Linked DNA regions of Homo sapiens: region 2 is linked to region 1. Evidence: promoter capture Hi-C in human tissues and cell types (Jung and others, 2019). All regions are on one chromosome and are shown on one strand. The core of a region is centred on a gene start or on the middle of the fragment in contact, and the rest is flanking DNA. Distances in the headings are between cores, read along the strand shown. Region 1 holds the start of PRKAR2A (protein kinase cAMP-dependent type II regulatory subunit alpha). Region 2 overlaps SHISA5 (shisa family member 5).

Evidence for each region. Contacts are between HindIII fragments. The study calls those that stand out against the background at their distance.
Region 2: a fragment that was not itself captured here is called in contact with the fragment with the promoter of PRKAR2A in region 1 in 1 of the 25 tissues and cell types used here (aorta).

Annotation. Positions count from the first base shown.
Region 1 is chr3:48,846,223-48,849,836 of GRCh38, reverse strand. It overlaps PRKAR2A (protein kinase cAMP-dependent type II regulatory subunit alpha), which reads left to right and starts at 1,963. Exons shown (of 11, transcript NM_004157.4): 1 at 1,963-2,502. The coding sequence starts at 2,241. It overlaps PRKAR2A-AS1 (PRKAR2A antisense RNA 1), which reads right to left and starts at 1,900. Exons shown (of 3, transcript NR_109997.1): 1 at 1,812-1,900; 2 at 1,429-1,732; 3 at 1-850. RefSeq lists a silencer at 1,821-2,150. The HindIII fragment of the contact is 13,078 bases long and covers 1-3,614 here.
Region 2 is chr3:48,468,993-48,472,606 of GRCh38, reverse strand. It overlaps SHISA5 (shisa family member 5), which reads left to right. Exons shown (of 6, transcript NM_016479.6): 4 at 2,764-2,879; 5 at 3,034-3,246; 6 at 3,421-3,614. The coding sequence ends at 3,500. Among named protein-coding and RNA genes, the nearest start is that of TREX1, 4.6 kb to the right of the region's middle. RefSeq lists enhancers at 1-57, 2,537-2,686. The HindIII fragment of the contact is 3,683 bases long and covers 1-3,091 here.

The sequences.
Region 1 (3,614 bases), core at 714-3,213:
GCCAACATGGCAAAACCCCGTCTCTACTGAAAATACAAAAATTAACTGGGCATGGTGGCAGGTGCCTATAATCCCAGCTACACAGGAGGCTGATGCAGGAGAATTGCTTGAACCTGGGAGGTGGAGGTTGCAGTGAGCTGAGATCGTGCCATTGCACTCCACCTTGGGCGACAAAAGGAAGACTCCATCTAAAAGAAAAAAAAAAAGCCAGGTGCGGTGGCTCACGCCTGTAATCCCAGCACTTTGGGAGGCTGAGGCGGGTGGATCACGAGGTCAAGAGATTGAGACCATCCTGGCCAACATGGAGAAACCCCATCTCTACTAAAAATAGAAAAAATTTGCTGGGTGTGGTGGTGCACGCCTGTAGTACCAGCTACTTGGGAGGCTGAGACAGGAGAATCGCTTGAACCTGGGAGGCAGAGCTTGCAGTGAGCAGAGGTCATGCCATTGCACTCCAGCCTGGGCGACAGAGTGAGACTCCTCTCAAAAAAAAATAGGGGCCTGGCAGAACGGTCGCCCTCATTCCTTCCAGATGCCTTTTGAATGCTCTGCTGGATGGGTGGTTGGCTGAGCCGTGGGGCATCTGAGAACAAGTCAGTAGACCTTCTCCAAGAGTATGCAATAAGGACTGAGCAGGAAAAAAGTTGGAGACTGCCTGTCCCCTCACAAAGTTGATGGTCTAACATTCTTCTCAGGGTCAAGAAACTTGTCCAGGGAGACACTGCTGTTTATAATCACAGGCCTGCTTAGCCTAGAACCTGGGCTGGCCTCTTCATCAGTGGGGATGAGGGCTCCTTGCTCCCAGCTGCTCAGCTCCCAGCAGCATTGAGCTCCTGGGTGTGTGCCAAGCCTGTATGGGAGGTGATAGGGAGGATTTTAATTAATACTGAGTAATTACCAGGCGGTGTTTAAGCATCCCAAATGCCCTCAGGTTCCCAAACCTACAGCTACTCTCTTCCTGGCTAGGCCTGTAAGGAGAGGGGGACTCTGCTCTATGCCCAGTGGGCCTTTGGTTAGCACGTAGGCTGTAGACTGGACATCCCAGGAAGGTCTCCACCTTTTTCAATACCCTTCCAGTTTGGTAGGAGGAGGAGGGCAATTTGGGAAATAGTCTGGCCTCTACAGTTCACCTATACCATCTTCCCAGGGGCAAAGGATAACAATGCCTGTGGTCTGCTCAACTTCATCAAGCAGTGTTGACCTAGGGCCCAGTGTAGAATGTGGGGAGAGGAATGGGCAGACCTAGATCTGGGGACCCTGGTGAAAGTGCTCCAGGAGGAACAGGCACAGAGGTCTTTGCTGCTTTTGGCCTTATTTCCCTTTCTCACTGTACACATTTGGCTGAGTGAACTCTTTCAAATTTATTTTTCTGTCTGTGGCTCTCAAATTATGATCTCATTCAAACGCCTACTTCCTACAAGGCCTTACCCGTTTGACATCTCAGAGACCTGACAGACTCCTGAGTTATTCCACCATTCCACCTGGCAGCCAAGGTGGTCTTGACTCCACCAGGCCTTTGCTCTTGTTGTATGTTCAGATGGCTTTCCTCCAGATCTTCCCCTGGGCGGGTCCTGCTCAGGCCTCGGGGCTAGCTTGAATGTCACGCCGGAAAGTGAGCCCTCTCTTGCCCTTCATCACAGCAGAATCACACTGATGTGCTCGTATGCTTCTGCTTCTCGCTGTGTCTCTGGTGCTTAGTAAGTGCTGGCCAAAAAGAGGCTCTTGGCATCAGCTGAAAGAATAATTTAAAGGTCTTCAGGACCAGGCGAGAGGCACTAATCGGTCCCCTTCATGGGTAGACCGTTCATTACCTAATTCCCTGGATTCCCTCCGTGAGCTGGCATCAGGAACACTCCACTGTCTCGACCCCCCGACAGCCCGAGGGGGCGGGTCATCTAGTGGCGCAAGCGCACTGAGGGCCGGTGCTAAGCGGGGACGCGCACGCCCGCGGTGGCGTGCGTCACAACCAGGACGCCTGCCCCGCCCGTCCAGCTCGCCTGCCCGTCGGTCCCCGCGGCGGCGGCGGCTGCCCAGTGACAGCGGCGGCGGTGCCAGGTCGGCCGTGGTAGCGTAGGGTTGCGCGGCCCGGAAACGCAGAGCCGGCCAAAGAGCGGCGCGACGTGAGCCGGGGCCGTGCGCGAAGAGACCTCGCGGGCGCGGAGCGAAAGGCCGGCGTGAGTGAGCGCGGAGACAGTGGCCGCCGGCGGCCCAACCCGTCTATCCCTTCGGCCGCCGCCGGCATGAGCCACATCCAGATCCCGCCGGGGCTCACGGAGCTGCTGCAGGGCTACACGGTGGAGGTGCTGCGACAGCAGCCGCCTGACCTCGTCGAATTCGCAGTGGAGTACTTCACCCGCCTGCGCGAGGCCCGCGCCCCAGCCTCAGTCCTGCCCGCCGCCACCCCACGCCAGAGCCTGGGCCACCCCCCGCCAGAACCCGGCCCGGACCGTGTCGCCGACGCCAAAGGGGACAGCGAGTCGGAGGAGGACGAGGACTTGGAAGGTAGGCTGTGGGCGGGGCCCTGGGGAGTGGTGCAGGAGGTCTCCAGAGGTCTAGAGGGGTGGCAGGGAGCCAGGTGTCGCGCCGCAGCCAAGCCGACCGCAGGCTGGGATTGGGAGCTCTGTAGCCGCGTTTCTAGCGTTTCCCTGAGACACCGGCGTGAGCCCGCGTGCGCCACTTCCAAATTGAGCTCCGCGATCCTGCGAGCCCTAGAGCGCACCGAGTGATTTGTCAGATCCAGCCTTGAAGGAAACGTGCGCGCTGTCGGCCCTGCTAGAGGATCCCTCGCCTTTGCTTAAGACCCTTCACCAGTTTTGGCTTCGAAGACAACAGCGTTCTCATCCAGTGACTTGTGTTTAATTGATAGGACAGTAAGTTTGTTTGGAAATAATAATTTTTTTTGAAAAGTTACTGTGAAAACTTTTAAGCATAGACAAAAGAGGAAAGGTGAGATGAATCCCTATATGCCATCACCTACATTTAACAGTTGCGTTTGTCACAAAGTTTCATCCATACCTTTTTTCTTTCTTTGCCGAAGTGTATTAAAGCAAATCTCTCAGGTCATTTCACCTCTGCTTACTTGAGTTTGTATTTCTTCAAACATGGTCCCTGGGAATATTCCTATTTTTAAAAACTTGGCCAAAACGATTGAATCAAATTTGGTGAGAGTAAATAATTATCTTGCCGGCCGGGGCAGTGGGCCCCTATAGTCTATACCAGCTACTCTGGAGGCTGAGGAGGAAATATCGCTTGAATCCAAGAGTTCGAGACCAGCCTGGGCAAAATAGACACCCTACCTCATTTTTGAAAACGAAAAACCTGGCCGGGCGTGGTGGGTCACGCCTGTAGTCCCAGCACTTTGGGAGGCCGAGGCGGGTGGATCACCTGAGGTCAGGAGTTCGAGACCAGCCTGGCCAACATGGCGAAACCCCGTCTCTACTAAAAATACAAAAATTAGCCGGGCGTGGTGGCGGGCGTCTGTAGTCCCAGCTACTTGGGAGGCTGAGGCAGGGAGAATCGCTTGAACCTGGGAGGCGGAGGTTGCAGTGAGCCAAGATCATGCCACTGCACTCCAGCCTGGGCGACAGAGCGAACTCCGTCTCAAAAAAAAAAAA
Region 2 (3,614 bases), core at 1-2,500, 380 kb after region 1:
TGGATGTGTTTGATGCAGTTACCAAGCATTTGCCTTTTGTTGGAATAAAGCTTGGGTTGGGCATGGTGGCTGACACCTTTTAAAAAAAACTTATTATTTTTTATTTTTTTGGAGACAGAGTCTCGCTCTGTCACCCAGGCAGGAGTGCAGTGGCGCGATCTCTGCTCACTGCAACCTCCGCCTCATGGGTTCACGTGATTCTTCTGCCTCAGCCTCCCCAGTAGCTGGGACCACAGGCACGTGCCACCACGCCCGGCTAATTCTTTTTTTTTTTGTATTTTAGTAGAGATGGGGTTTCACTATGTTGCCCAGGCTGGTCTCAAATTCCTGACCTCAGGCGATCCGCCTGCCTCGGCCTCCCAAAGTGTTAGGATTACAGGCATGAACCACTGCGCCTGGCCTATTTATTTTATTTTTTAATTTTTTGAGACGGAGTCTCCCACTGTTGCTCAGGCTGGAGTGCAGTGGCACAATCTTAGCTCACTGCAACCTCCCTCCTTGGTTCAAGCGATTCTCCTGCCTCAGCCTCCTGAGTAGCTGGGACTACAGTTTTGCGCCACTACGCCCTGCTAATTTTTGTATTTTTAGTAGAGACAGGGTTTTACCATGTTAGCCAGGGTAGTCTAGAACTCCTGACCTCAAGCGATCCGCCCACTTCGGCCTCTAGAAGTGTTGCCACCGCGCCTGGCCAGTTTTTTATTTTTATTTTTTATTTATTTACTTTTTTGAGATGGAGTTTCGCTTTTGTTGCCTAGGCTGGAGTGCAATGGTGTGATCTTGGCTCACTGCAATCTCTGCCTCCTTGGGTTCAAGAGATTCTCCTGCCTTAGCCTCCCAAGTAGCTGGGATTGCAAGCACCCACCATCATGTCCGGCTAATTTTTTTTATACTTTCTCGAATTCCAGACCTCAGGTGATCCACCTGCCTCGGCCTCCCAAAGTACTGGGATTACAGGTGTGAGCCACCGCACCCAACCGTTTTTTATTTTTTAAAATCTTTTATCATCCAGTACAAAATGTAAGGCTGACTTTTTTTTTTTTTTTTTTTTTTTTGAGACAGAGTCTCACTCTGTCCCCCAGGCTGGAGTGCAGTGGTGCGATCTTGGCTCACTACAACCTCCACCTCCTGGGTTCAAGCGATTCTCCTGCCTCAGCCTCCTGAGTAGTTGGGACTACCGGCTAATTTTTAGTAGAGACGGGGTTTCACCATGTTGACCAAGCTGGTCTCAAACTGCTAACCTTGTGATCCGCCCATCTCGGCCTCCCAAAGTGCTGGGATTACAGGCATGAGCCACCGCACCCTGGCCACGAGACAGTTTTAATCTCAGCACTTTGAGAGGCCGAGGAGGGAAGATTGCTTGAGGCCAGGAGTTGGAAACCAGTTAGGTAACATAGTGAGACCCCTGTCTCTGCAAAAATAAATGTGGTAGTGCATGCCTGTGGTTCCAGCTACTGGGGAGGCTGAGGTGGGAGAATCACTTGAGCCTGGGAGGTGGAGGCTGCAGTGAACTGTGATCATATCACTGCACTCCAGCCTGGGCAACAGAGTGAGACCCTGTCTCAAAAAATAAATTAAAAAAGAAAAAGAATGAAGCTTGGCCTCTGCAAACACGGCAGGGTGGCTAGTAAGGGGCTCTGTCTGCATTTGGAAGTCAGGTTTTTTTTTTTTTCTTTCATTTTTGAGACAGAGTTTTGCTCCTGTCCCCAGGCTGGAGTGCAATGGCGTGATCTTGGCTGAATGCAACCTCTGCCTCTCGGGTTCAAGCGATTCTCCTGCCTCAGCCTCCCAAGTAGCTGGGATTACAGGCACCCGCCACCGTGCCCGACTAATTTTTGTATTTTTAGTAGAGACAGGGTTTCACCATGTTGGCCAGGCTGGTCTCGAACACCTCACCTCAGGTGATCCGCCCTCCTCGGCCTCCCAAAGTGCTGAGATTGCAGGCATGAGCCACTGCCCCCTCCTAGAAGTCAATTTTGGTGAGCTTCCCAGCCCAGGGCCTGCTTTCTCAAAGGGCAGGCCCTCTGGCCTCCTGCCTCCAGGCCTCTGTGTCCTCCCCTTGGCTCTTGGCCCTCTCACCTGTGGAAGTGGCCATGCAGGTCAGAGGTGGGGGACCCAGGGGTGTGTGTGACCCCTGGCACGGTGCTTGGCATACAGCAAGCTTGCAGGCAGAGGCAACTGTCCTTATCACTCAGGGGCCAGCCTCCCTGCCCTGGGGCTGTTGTGGAGTGCAGGGGAACAATGGGGGCCTCCTGTTCTGGCCACACTGGCCTCTGCCCTCCTGGGGCTTCTCTCAGTCTTCACCCTGTGCTTTGTGAGCCATGTTATCTTCACTGTCTGCCTCCTACACTGGACTGTGGGCTCCCAGAGGCCAGGGCTGGCTGTCTTGCCCACTGTTAAGTTTTTTGACTCAAATCACAGTGCCTGGCTTGTGGCATGTGCCCTATACCCATCTGCTGATCAGTTGGTTGTGAGGTGGACAAGATAGATGTATGTGTGTGGCATGGGACTTGAAGAGCTTCCTCCCATGCCTCTGAGGGTGGGACAAGCGGGGGAGACCCAGGGAGAGACAGTTACAGGGACTCACATATACCCCAGTTTACACAAGAGGAAACAGATTGAAACAGGTGCAGGCCACCCGACAAGGAAGTAGCTATAACTGTATTGCCCAGACCCCTTCTGGCAAGAGGGGCATGCCTTGGGAAGGTGTGGATGCTGGTCTGGGGAGGGGCGAGGTGCCCCGGGTCACGTCTAGCTCTTTGGCAGGTTCGGAGCGACCTTGGCCGTTGGCCTGACCATCTTTGTGCTGTCTGTCGTCACTATCATCATCTGCTTCACCTGCTCCTGCTGCTGCCTTTACAAGACGTGCCGCCGACCACGTCGTAAGCGTGCCCACCCTGCCCCACTGTGACCCCCTGGGGTGGTAAGGGAAGCTGACCAGGCCCTGCTTTGGCTAAGCTGGAGGGATGGGTGGCAAGCCTGGCTCTCAAGACCTGGGGAGATGGAGGAGGGTCCTGACTGGAATTCTCTTTGCAGCGGTTGTCACCACCACCACATCCACCACTGTGGTGCATGCCCCTTATCCTCAGCCTCCAAGTGTGCCGCCCAGCTACCCTGGACCAAGCTACCAGGGCTACCACACCATGCCGCCTCAGCCAGGGATGCCAGCAGCACCCTACCCAATGCAGTACCCACCACCTTACCCAGCCCAGCCCATGGGCCCACCGGCCTACCACGAGACCCTGGCTGGTGAGTGCCCCTGCCAACTCTAGCCCTGCCCGACTTCCCGAGTCTCTGCCAGCATCCCTCGGGCACCCATCCCAAACTACATCACTCAACAGGCCTCTGCCCCTTTCTGCTTGCCTGCCACTCACACGGCAGCCCACCATGCTCACAGCCAACCAGGGTCCTCTCTGCTTTCAGGAGGAGCAGCCGCGCCCTACCCCGCCAGCCAGCCTCCTTACAACCCGGCCTACATGGATGCCCCGAAGGCGGCCCTCTGAGCATTCCCTGGCCTCTCTGGCTGCCACTTGGTTATGTTGTGTGTGTGCGTGAGTGGTGTGCAGGCGCGGTTCCTTACGCCCCATGTGTGCTGTGTGTGTCCAGGCACGGTTCCT